2 separate regions of the Homo sapiens genome follow, and region 1 is linked to region 2. The links are contacts of gene promoters, found by promoter capture Hi-C in human tissues and cell types (Jung and others, 2019). All regions are on one chromosome and are shown on one strand. The core of a region is centred on a gene start or on the middle of the fragment in contact, and the rest is flanking DNA. Distances in the headings are between cores, read along the strand shown.

Evidence for each region. The method cuts DNA at HindIII sites, captures the fragments that hold promoters and counts their contacts. A contact is called where the count stands out against the background at its distance.
Region 1: a fragment that was not itself captured here is called in contact with the fragment with the promoter of SCIMP in region 2 in 8 of the 25 tissues and cell types used here (H1 embryonic stem cells, IMR-90 fibroblasts, adrenal gland and 5 more).

Annotation. Positions count from the first base shown.
Region 1 is chr17:5,306,491-5,312,754 of GRCh38, forward strand. It overlaps RABEP1 (rabaptin, RAB GTPase binding effector protein 1), which reads left to right. Exons shown (of 18, transcript NM_004703.6): 2 at 2,204-2,332. Among named protein-coding and RNA genes, the nearest start is that of RABEP1, 27 kb to the left of the region's middle. The HindIII fragment of the contact is 6,443 bases long and covers 1,316-6,264 here.
Region 2 is chr17:5,231,264-5,237,703 of GRCh38, forward strand. SCIMP (SLP adaptor and CSK interacting membrane protein) reads right to left here and starts at 3,597. Exons shown (of 5, transcript NM_207103.3): 1 at 3,472-3,597. The coding sequence starts at 3,492. ZNF594-DT (ZNF594 divergent transcript) reads left to right here. Exons shown (of 6, transcript NR_152840.1): 6 at 3,851-4,740. RefSeq lists enhancers at 3,839-4,038, 5,984-6,283. The HindIII fragment of the contact is 19,973 bases long and covers 1-6,440 here.

The DNA.
Region 1 (6,264 bases), core at 3,287-5,786, 76 kb after region 2:
GGTGGCATGTGCCTGTACTCCCAGCTACTCGGGAGGCTGAGGCAGAAGAATTGCTTGAGTCCGGGAGGCGGAGGTTGCAATGAGCCAAGATTGCACCACTGCACTCCAGCCTGGGTGACAGAGTGAGACTCTGTCTGAAAAAAAAAAAAGATACATGATAATAGAGGAGGGTATAAGCTGGAAGTCTAAGCATGGAACTGAGTCAGAATCATGAGGTTGGAAGTGACTTCTGGTCTTTTCTGGCTATATACAAGGTCATTTGATTGCTACTTTTTTTTGTTACTCATTAAATAAATACCACCAATTTAATAATGACAGCTAACAGCTAACATTTATCAAGTTATAGTAAAATGTTGTATATCTCATGTAATTTATTGAATCCTCTAGTGAAAGTTGAAAGTAAAAAAGAGAATGGTTGTATGAGTACCATAATAAAGTGGAAAAATTGTAAGTGAAACCATCAGTTTGAACCATCTGTGTTGGTTTTAGTTCATTGTCAAAGGAATACATATCTGCATAGAAGAGAACTTTGAGAAGCTTATGGAAGGCCAGGTGCGGTGGCTTATGCCTGTAATCCCAGCACTTTGGGAGGCCGAGGTGGGTGGATCATTTGAGGTCAAGAGTTAGAGACCAGCCTGACCAACATGTGAAACCCCGTCTCTACTAAAAATACAAAAATTAGCCAGGCGTGGTGGCACATGCCTGTAGTCCCAGCTAACTGGGAGGCTGAGGCAGGAGAATTGCTTGAACCTGGGAGGCAGAATTTGCGGTGAGCCGAGATCGCCCCACTGCACTGTAGCCTGGGCAACAGAGGGAGACTCCGTCTCAAAAGCATATGGAAGAAATTAATGAGCCATAATTCTGTTACTCATAGATAAATCATTGGTACATTTTTTCCAGTCTTTTTTTCTATACATTTTAAAATCAGCTCTCAATTAAATTGAGTGATTGGGAGAGGGGATAGCCTTCAAAGATAATCTCAGATCTTGATTAAAATTCTAGGCAAATCATCATTATCTGGAGTGACTTGCAGTAGGAAACTTGGCCCTCTGCTGGCCTAAGTAGTTAGTGGTTGATTAGTACTAACCGATATCCCCTAAAGGGATTATGGTCATAGCTTTAAGGCTGGGATGCTGTTGGGGCAAAAGGGGAGATCAGGGGTTTGCACAGCTGGACCTCCTATCTTATGCTTCAATCAAAGGAACCCCTGGGTTTGGTCAGGGAAGGCAATCATTTAACCAGCTGTGTCCAAATTATAGAGTCCATAAAGTAAAAAGTCTGCTAATCTCCGCACACCATGATCAATGTTGAAAACATGGAAGAAAACCAGATTATCTCCCAGTAATTGAGAGTTTATATAGAATGTGCAGTTCTGTATCCTCTCTATGAATGGGTTTTTGATTATGATCTCAGTATAATGGTAATGGATCATTTTGAAGTTGGAAGAATAGTTCAGTCTGGTATGGCTACACTAGTTAGGGAACCTATTAGATTTTGCTTGTGACACTTGAGAGAAATGGGAAATAGCAAGATTGGCAGTAGGTTCATTTGTGGGATAAGTAGTTCAAATAATCCAATATTTAACAGTTCTAAAATTAAATTGCTATTCAGTTGCACAAAGGCACTTTAGAAGCTCTTTTTTTTGTGGGGAAGTTGGCCTTATGTGATTCTCTGTATATTTGTGGTTTCACTTTACATGACTCATTTACAGTTGTGTATTAAGTCTAATACAAGGATCTTTTTTTTTTTTTTTGAGACAGAGTCTCACTCTGTCACCCAGGCTAGAGTGCAGTGGTGCGATCTCGGCCCACTGCAACCTCCGCCTCCCGGGTTCAAGCGATTCTCCTGCCTCAGCCTCCTGAGTAGCTGGGATTACAGGCACCTGCCACTACACCTGGCTAATTTTTGTATTTTTAATAGAGATGGGATTTCTCCATGTCGGCCAGGCTGGTCTCGAACTCCTGACCTCGGGTGATCCGCCCGCCTCGGCCTCCCAAAGTGCTGGGATTACAGGCGTGAGCCACCATGCCTGGTCTGTCTTACTTTTTTTAAACATTAGAATATCCTAGCATATGGTGGATTTTTGGAAGAAGCTTGACTACTTGTTTCACGTATAGCAATGTACAGCTAGAATACTAATTTACTGTTTTATAAATTTATGAATAAAAGTTATTACTTGTTAACTAGTGTTTTTTTCCCCCAGTTTCTCTTCAGCAACGGGTAGCAGAATTGGAAAAAATTAATGCAGAATTTTTACGTGCACAACAGCAGCTTGAACAAGAATTTAATCAAAAGAGAGCAAAATTTAAGGAGTTATATTTGGCTAAAGAGGGTAAGTTCATAAGTCTCGCACCAACTTCAATGCGAAAACTGCCTTAAAGTGTTGAGTTTCTTGGTAGTAGTGTTAATTTTATCATTGAATAAACCTTGATTTTATTTGTACTTGCATAATAAAAGAATACTGTTTAAAGGCTAGGTTAAGAATGGGATTGAAAAACAAGTTGAAAAATGCCTTCTTCAGATTTTGCCTTGTTTTTTGATCTTACTGTTCATATTTAGGTTGCATAGCCTTGAGATAAGAGAATGTTATTGCTCTTAACATTTGGGATACAGTTGTGGGCAAACTAGGATTGTTGGCATTCTAATAACAGCTTTAGCTATGTTATCTTTAATTCCATGAAACATCAGTTTTACCCAACAAATATTCAGTTATTTATCAATAAATATTTATTTAATATCTACTATGAGGCAGACATTATACTTGTGTTGGGTATACAGAAAGAGGAAAATTCATGTGGTTCTTTAACTTGGTTGAACTCAATGAGCAAAACAGATGTTAAGTAATTGTGTGATGAGTCGTTAAAACAGGAAATTGCAGGCTGGGCGCGGTGGCTCACACCTGTAATCCCAGCACTTTGGGAGGCCAACGGGCGGGGGCGGATCACCTGAGGTCGGGAGTTCAAGTCCAGCCTGGCCAACATGGAGAAACCCTGTCTGTACTAAAAATACAAAATTAGCTGGGCATGGTGGCGCATGCCTGTAATCCCAGCTGCTCGGGAGGCTGAGGCAGAAGAATTGCTTGAACCCAGGAGGCAGACGTTGAGGTGAGCTGAGATTGCGCCATTGCACTCCAGCGTGGGCGACAAGAGTGAAACTCCCATCTCAAAAAAAAAAAAAAAAGAAAAAGAAACTGTATAAGGAAAATACATGAGAGAACATGTTGGGGGACCTGATTTGAAGGATCAGGGAAGGGGCTTACCTTCTGAGTATCGACCTAGAATAATGTGAATGTAGTTTCCACAGCTCTCTAGACCAGTGATTCTCAAAGTGTGATTGTGGAACAGCATCATTATCGTCATCATCACCTGGGAAAGTTGTTAGAAATGCAAATGTTTGGGTCCCACCCAGATTTACTGAGTTAGAAACTGTGGGATTTGGGTCCAGCTGCACACTAAATTTTGAAAACTGCTCTAGTCTATAATAGAATAGTGGCTCTCAAATTCAAATGTGGATAAAAATCACCTGGAGAGCTTGTTAAACCACAGTATGTTTGGGTGGAGCCCAGAAATTTGCATTTCTAATAAGCTCATAGATGATTCCAGTTACTGCTAGTTCAAGTACTACAGTTTGAAAAATCCTGTTCTGGACTAGTGATCATGCACCTTTTTTAACTTATGAACTCTGTAAAATATATACTTACATACAACCTTCATACATGTTAAAGTTGATGTTTAAAATTTTTTGCTTGAAAAGATGTGAAGGATAAAATTTTATATTGTTGATATTTACAATTTAAATGAAAGCTTCGTCCTTTTTTTTTTTTTTTTTTGAGATGGGAGTCTCCCCCGACATCTTCCCCTGTCACGCAGGCTGGAGTTCAGTGGCACTATCTCAGCTCACTACAACCTCCGCCTCCCATATTCAAGTGATTCTCCTGCCCTGCCCCAGCCTCCCGAGTAGCTGGGATTACAGGTGTGTGCCACCATGCCCGGCTAATTTTTGTATTTTTAGTAGAGACGGGGTTTCACCATGTTGGTCAGGCTGGTCTCAAACTCCTGACCTTGTGATCCGCCCGCTTCGGCCTCCCAAAGTGCTGGGTGAGCCACCACGCCTGGCCAACTTCCTGCTTTTAAACATATCCAGTGGAATGAAAATATCAGTGATTTATCCATTGTTATCTGTTTAACAAACACATGAATAGCTTTATAGCCGAAATTTTACAGTGGTTTTCCTCCTTGCGTTGGGTTTTCTTCTTTACATCTCCTTTAGAATTTTTTTCTTAAAAATGGTTTTGAAACTTGAGTGTGCATTTGTTTCATTCATTTTTTTTTTTTTTTGAGACCGAGTCTCGCTGTGTTGTCCAGGCTGAAGTGCAGTGGTGTGATCTTGGCTCACTGCAACCTCCGCCTCCTGGGTTCAAGCGACTCTTGTGCCTTAGCCTCCCTAGTAGCTGGGGCTACAGGTGTGTGCCACCACGCCCTGCTAATTTTTGTATTTCTAGTAGAGACGGGGTCTCACCATGTTGGCCAGGCTGGTCTCGAACTCCTGACCTCAGATGATCCGCCTGCCTCGGCCTCCCAGAGTGCTGGGATTACAGGCGTGAGCCACCACAATGGGCTTGCGTGTGCATTTGAATTACCTAATAGGGTTCGTTAAAACAAGGATTACTGGCTTCCCCCCTCAGAGACGCTGACTCACTAGGGCACTGGGATCCAGAGTTTGTGTTTTTAGCAAGTTACCAGTTGGCGGAGATGTTACTGTTCAGAGACCATACTTTAAAAACTACTGGCCTAAAGTAACATCTTGTGCTTGGAACTCTTAAAATATGCATATAAATGTTTTCTTTACGGAGATATTATTAAAATTTATTATAAATACACAGTTGATCACATTATGGATATTTTACATATTACTATGAAAATAAGGCCAGGCACGGTGGCTGACACCTGTAATCCCAGCATTTTGGGAGGCCGAGGCAGGCGGATCACAAGGTCATGAGTTCGAGACCAGCTGGGCCAACATGGTGAAACTCTGTCTCTACAAAAAAAATACAAAAATTAGAAGGCATGTTGGCATGGGTCTGTAATCCCAGCTACTCAGAAGGCTGAGGCAGGAGAATCGCTTGAACCTGGGAGGCGGAGGTTGCAGCAAGCTGAGATTGTGCCACTGCACTCCATCCAGCCTGGGTGACAGAGCGACTTCATCTCAAAAAAAAAAAAAAAAAAAAAAACAGACTAAAAAATAGGAAAATATAAAAATCATTGGAAATGCAGCTCTTTTGAGATATATTGGTTCTCATTAAATCGTTAATCTCTGGATGCATATTATTTACTGCTAGAAAAAGATAGCTTGTCAGCATCAATTCTATTGTAGTTTTATTTTTTTAAACATATAAATGCCAAGAACCCTTGGTCTCATGAGTGAGTAAATAGAAACAGAGTTTTATTACAGCAATTATTATTCAATTCTCTTAGCTGTTTCTAAATTATATGTTAAATTACATAGTTCTTTAGCATCAAAATGTTTTTATCCTATCAGCTAACAACTGAATTAGGTCTGTCTTCAATTTTGTTGAAAGAGGACTTGCGTCCACCTGACTTGCCAAAAGATTTGTTACACTGTTATTAGTCATTCACTTTTTAATTATTGACACTAATTTTAGTTATCCCTCTGTGAGGCAGAGTCTCACTTTTTCGCTCAGGCTGGAGTGCAGTGGCACAACAATCTTGGCTCACTGCAACCTCTGCCCCACGGTTCAAGTGATTCTCCTGCCTTAGCCTCCCGAGTAGCAGGGATTACAGGTGTGTGCCACCACACCTGGCTAATTTTTTTGTATTTTTAGTAGAGACAGGGTTTCACCCTGTTGGCCAGGCTGATCTTGAACTCCTAACCTCAAATGATCTGCCCGCCTCAGCCTCCCAAACTGCTGGGATTACAGGCATGAGCCACCGTGCCTGGCCTCATAGAGGAGTTTTTAATACAACAGGACAATGAACCATAGTAAAATACTATATGATGGAAGGTTCTTAGGCCTTGTAGAATTTAGCCCTGGCTTGGAAAGGATTACTGACTGTGGTATGGAATGGAGTTCCATTTTTTCATGGCTTTCAGGAGGGCTGTTTTTTATTTTCTTTTATAGGCTGGTAAGTAGGTGGGAAAGCTGATGTTCATGTCTAGTCATGGTGGCACTCTGCAAGACACTGTGGAGGTTGGGATGAATGAGATATATGGTTTCTATTCCCAAGAAAGAATAGTCTACTGTGG
Region 2 (6,440 bases), core at 2,347-4,846:
GGAGAATCATTTGAACCCAGGAGGTAGAGGTTGCAGTGAGCCTCCAGGATCACGCCATTGCACTCCAGCCTGAGTGACGAGAGTGAAACTCCATCTCAAAAAAAAAAAAAGAAAAGAAAAAAAGTTGTTTTTCAGGAACTTGGGGTCAGCTCTTATCCAGTTCAAGCCACTTATGACCATCAATCCTTCAACTTGGTCTGTGTGAGTGTCCAGTAGGTGACGTTTGATGTCAGAGCGCCAAAAACTCCATCTTCCATCATGCTAATGCCACCATTTTGTGAACCTGCATCCTATGAAGAACGATGAAGCTTGACTAGGCTTGCACAGATTGCCGATGTCCTACTTTTCCCTCCAATCACCTTCCCCACACCTTAGGCCACCTGCTTCTTTGTCCCATAAACGTCTCTAAACCCCATCTTCGAGGAAGTGGGTTTGAGACCTGTTTTCCCATCTCCTCACTTGGCTGCCTCATGAATAAATGCATTCTGTGCTGCAAAACTGGTCATCTTGGCGGGACGCGGTGGCTCACGCCTGTAATCCCAGCACTTTGGGAGGCTGAGGCGGGCGGATCACGAGGTCAGGAGATCAAGACCATCCTGGCTAACACAATGAAACCCTGTCTCTACTTAAAAAATACAAAAAATTAGCCAGGCATGGTGGCAGGCGCCTGTAGTCCCAGCTACTCGGGAGGCTGAGGCAGGAGAATGGCGTGAACCCGGGAGGCGGAGCTTGCAGTGAGCCGAGATTGCGCCACTGCACTCCAGCCTGGGCGACAGAGCGAGACTCCGTCTCAAAAACAAAAAAAAAAAACTGGTCACCTCAGTGATTGGCTTACTGTGCGATGAGCAGAATGGGCCTCATTTGGTATCAAGAGGAGGAGCTGATAGAAAATGCTCAGGGATGGGCTGGCAAAGACATTTTCAGAGCAGCGCCGTGTTATGTTCTGTGTGCAGTTGTTTGCGCTGATGCGTTACAAGCCCCTCTGGTGGTCCCCCGCTGAGTCTTTGGTAAAGTCTGCTGCATCTGCCAATTCTTTTGTGAGCAGATTTGTTCTAGGGGTGTGGGGGACTAAGAAAGGGGTGGAATATAAACAGTGCAGTGTAAACAGTGCAGTATAAACAGTGCAGTATAAACAGTATAAACAGTGCAAACAGTGCAGTGTAAACAGCGCAGTGTAAACAGTTTTACCCACAGAGGCTGCAGGCCCATTGCTGACCATGGAAAAAGAGGTGGGCTCCTCGGGAGTCCACAGAAGTCCTGGGGAGGGCTTTGGACTTCGGCAGGCCTGGAATGAGGGTTCGAACTAATCTCAGTCTAGATCTCGAGGGTCTGAGAGGCTGTAGAGAACATTTAGGCCGGTTGGCATGAGCAGTTCTTGCCCCAGTTCACCTCTAATTCCCCGACTGTTGCTGTTCATGCTAAGTGAGGCCTTGTTCCCACTCGTTCTTCTTCTTTTTTTTTTTTTGAGATGGCGTCTTGCTCTGTCACCCAGGCTAGACTCCACTGGTGCAATCTCAGCTCACTGCAACCTCTACTTCCTGGTTCAAGCTATTCTCCTGTGTCAGCCTCCTGAGTAGCTGGGATTACCGACACGCACCACCATACCCGGCTAATTTTTGTGTATTTTTAGTAGAGATGGGGTTTTGCCATGTTGGCCTGGCTGGTCTCAAACTCCTGACCTCAAGTGATCCACCTGCCTCGGCCTCCCAAAGTGCTGGGATTACAGGCGTGAGCCACTGAGCCTCGCTCCACTTGTCCTTCTCACTGATGTCAGCACCAGAAATGGCCATGTGGATAGTCACTGGCAACTTAAAACCCAAGTGTGCATGGGGAAGTGCACGGCAGGGTCATTAAAAGGAGTCCAGCCTCTCTTCTTCCCTTCTCTATACTTTCACTTCTGGAAAAGACCGGAAACCTTGCCTCATTCCTCTTTCTCCCATGGCCCCATCCCCACCCCGCTTCAGCCCATCAGCCTCCAAATGTAGTCCAAGTCCTCATCTCTGTACCTGGACCATTGCATTTTCGCTGGCCCCTAGCCCCCACTGGGCTCCCCACTGGCTGCCAAATACCAGTGTGACCCTGTCCCTTCCTTGCTTTAAGCCTCTCAGTAGTTTGTTTGTTTGTTTTTGAGATGGAGTCTTGCTCTGTCACCAGGCTGGAGTGCAGTGACATAATCTTGGCTCACTGCAACCTCCACCTCCCGGGCTCAAACGATTCTCCTGCCTCAGCTTCCCGAGTAGCTGGGGCTATAGGCGCCCACCACCATGCCCAGCTAATTTTTGTATTTGTAGTAGAGACAGGGTTTCACCATGTTGGCCAGGCTGGTCTTGATCTCTTGACCTTGTGATCTGCCCACCTTGGCCTCCCAAAGTGCTGGGATTAGAGGCGTGAGCCACCATGCCCCGCCTGCCTCTCAGTAGTTATTTACCACTGAAGCAGAGTGAAGCCTGTGCTCCACATTGCTTCATGGCCAAGACCTCAGGGACAAGTGGACACACCAGGCAGTGGGAGTGGATATGGCAAAGCCAAACCCAGATCTCTTCTCAAAATAATTTTCCAGAGGGCAAAAGCAGATGGCTACACCGAGAACTCACGCCAGCCCAACACACTTTGATCTCGAGGCCTCTGGAAGGGAAGGTGCCTAATGAACTACTGAAAGCCAGAGATGCAATGACAAAGGTACCAAGACTGGAGGTGATCCAGGTCTTTCATCCAAGAGCCCCAAGACGTAGCCTAAATTCATGCTACGGTAATCCCAGCACTTTGGGAGGCCGAGGCGGGCGGATCACCTGAGGTCAGGAGTTCGAGAGCAGCCTGGCCAACATGGTGAAACTCCGTCTCTACTAAAAATACAGAAATTAGCCAGGTGTGGTGGCGGGTGCCTGTAATCCCAGCTACTCAGGAGGCTGAGGCAGGAGAATCGCTTGAACCCGGGAGGCGGTGGTTGCAGTGAGCCGAGATCACGTCACTGCACTCCAGCCTGGGCGACAAGAGCGAAACTCCATCTCAAAATAAAATAAAAATAAATAAATTGACACAGTCAGTGCCTCGCTCCCACCCCCACCTCCAGCATAGCACCATGACAGTCTTCTCACATAACAAGTCCCAAAACACACCATCGGCATCCAGAAAGTGAGAGTAACTCGTTACAGTTGAGACCTCTCACTCCCGGTCATTATCTCATTTCAATCCAAGAGGTAGACTTCTTCATCGCCCCTGACATACACATGAGGAAAAGGCCCAGAGAGGTGAAGTGATGCCTCAGGTCACTCAGCCAGTTACCAGTAGAGCAGATCCTTCAATGCAAGTTTTTCTCCAACCCTACACAGCAGTCGTACCAGGGCCCCAGGCTGCAATCCCCTGGCCCAGTGCTGATCGGTGGCTCCCAGGGACACGCCCTGATGCCAGCGCTGGCAGATGTCTGCTGTGAAGAGAGCAGGAAACTGTCCCTTGGAAAGCTGAGATGCTTACCTGAACTGTGAAAGTATCCATATGTGAGCAGCTAAGGAGACAGCAGTGGCTGGAGTGCTGCAGCTCAGGCACAGCTGGTGAGAGGCATTCCTCACTCACAGGCCTTCACCCACTGCTAGAGACAGTGAGCCCCATCCTGACCACTTCCCCTTTCTAGTCAGCCCACGGGGCAGAGACCCTGGCGTCATCTCTAGGCAACCATCCCTTTTCCAGGGAAGCTCATGACCCACGGCTGTCCAGAAGCCAGAATCTTCTCACTGCCCCGTGTCGCTCCCGCAAGGCCTACCAGAGGACCCTCATGGTGTGGTAGGGGGTCCTGGCAGGGGCCAGGGGCCAGGGTGGAGACTTGGCAGTGGGGGTGGGTTTGGTGTCCCCACAGACGAGTTTGCCGTGAGCATTCCTGGATGTGGCAACCTCAGTCTCAAGAAGAGCGACAGGACGCCAGCTCCCATGCAGAGACAGATCCAGGTAAGAAACCAGCTCATGTGTGACAAACTCACCATCTCACCATGAAGGTGACTCTTGAAAGCTCCTGTGCACCTTGGAACTGCTGAGACATCTTCTGCTTGGAGGAGGCAAGGGACAGGCTTCCTGTTTCTAAAGGCGTGTGAGTGGCGACCTTGAGAAATGTGGCCAGTGGAGCATTTTGACTGAGTTGGGTCCCCTCGTGCAATACTGTGAGACAGAACTCCCAGCGAGGCCCACGGCCTCTGACCATGGGGGTTGGAGTGGGGAAACCAATTAGCCATTTTGTTGAATTGGCTGGTTCTGACTCAAATGAGCAGTCACATTAGTAAAAATAGGCAAACGGATGTGCATTGTATTTGCCCAGAGCGAATGAGTTGTTATCCATTTCAGTAATAATGATAACCAGATATGTCTGATAAATATCTGATAATGTCTGATATATGTCTGGTAAATTTAACAAACACCGGGCTCTGGCTGGGTGCGGTGGCTCACACCTGTAATCCCAGCACTTTGGGAGGCCAAGGCGGGTGGATCACCTGAAGTCAGTAGTTCGAGACCAGCCTGGCCAACATGGTGAAACCCCATCTCTACTAAAAATACAAAAATTAGCTGGGCATTTTGGTGTGAACCGGTAGTCCCAGCTACTCAGGAGGCTGAGGCGGGAGAATTGCTTGGACCCGCGAGGTGGAGGTTGCAGTGAGCCAAGATCACACCATTGCGCTCCAGCCTGGGCAACAGAGCAAGACTCTATCTCAAACAAACAAAACAAAACATCTGGCTCAGAAGATTCCTGATTTGCAGTGTTTACTAATTTCTTTTTTCTTTTTCTTTCTTTCTTTCTTTTTTTTTTTTTTTTTTGAGATGCAGTCTCACTCTGTCGCCAGGCTGGAGTGCAGTGGCTCAATCTCAGCACACTGCAACCTCCGACTCCCAGGTTCAAGCAATTCTCCTGCCTCAGCCTCCCAAGTAGCTGGGACTACAGGTGTGTGCCACCGCATCCGGCTAATCTTTGTATTTTTAGTAGAGACAGGGTTTCACCATGTTGGCCAGGCTGGTCTCGAACTCCTGACCTCAAGTGATCCACCTGCCTCGGCCTCCCAAAGTGCTGGGATTACAGAGTTGAGCCACTGCACCTGGCCAAGGCCTGAACTCTTTCTTCTTAGGCTCATCCAAAGTTTAGCTGCTAAAAAACCTTCCTAAAAGCCAATTTAAAATTTTCTTCTAGGCCGGGCACAGTGGCTCACGCCTGAAATCCCAGCACTTTGGGAGGCCAAGGCAGGCGGATCATGAGGTCAGGCGTTTGAGACCAGCCTGGCCAACATGGTGAAATCCCGTCTCTACTAAAAATACAAAAATTAGCCAGGCATGGTGGCAGGTGCCTGTAGTCCCAGCTACTTGGGAGGCTGAGGCAGAAGAATCGCTTGAACCTGGGAGGCGGAGGTTGCAGTGAGCCGAGATCGAGCCACTGCACTCCAGCCGGGGTGACAGAGCAACACTCCGTCTCAAAAAAAAAAAAAAAAAAAATTCTCTTCTGAGGGGTGAATAAATGCTTCTGTGGATAGAGCTCATCCTAGGCTAACAAAGCTGTGACTTCTTGGTTTGTGTTTCATTCATTCATTCAATAAATTACTCAATAAATTATTTTGCTAACCTTTAAGGACCTCAGTTCAGCTGTGATATAGTAAACTCTGTAGCCCTACTATTTCTAACAATGCCTTTTGCACAGCAAGTTCAAGCCTGAGGTGTCAGGTGATCAGAATTCCAGGCCCGGTTTGACAAAACTTTCTTTGTGAATCCTTCCCTTCTCTGAGCCTCAGTTTCCTTGTTGTAAAATGAAAGAATTCAATTGACAAATATGAAAGTGCTCCAGGGATTTTGCCATCTGCCTTCAAGAAAGTCCCGCAAAGTGTAGGAGGAAGTTGAAGCCATAATATGATGCAGGCTAAATACAATGACCTTCAATTTGTGCCAGACCCTGTGCTCAACAAGTAGAGACTCAGAACTGGGCAAGTCATTCATGGGTAGAGCACATGGCACATGTTCTACAGGACAGAAGGCACATAAGTTATTACTATGCAAAGTGATGAATGCTAGTGCTGTGGAAGCACAAAAGTGGGAGAGAAGAAAGGGTCTGAGTGGTAGCATTTGAACTGGGCCTTGAAGGATGTGTAGGAGCTCACCAAATGGACAGAATGTGGACAGACACAAAGCAGCCATAGTATTTGGAGAGAAAGAGATGGTTGCATGGCTGATCAAGAGTGAATGTGTTGGGCAGTCAGAGGCTTGAGAGCAAAGTTTAGGGACACACACCACGGCATCTGGATCTACCCACTTCCTTGCTATCTACATTCTTCCCCGACTCCACCATTTGTCTTTCCACCACAAGAGGAGGGCAGGAAGTTGGGGCGGTTGTGTTCTTTCTGCACATCTGAAATGCCACCTGCTGGTCTGGGCAACTAAAGAGGTCCCTGAGGGCCCTAGATTAGCGGCTGGACCAGAGG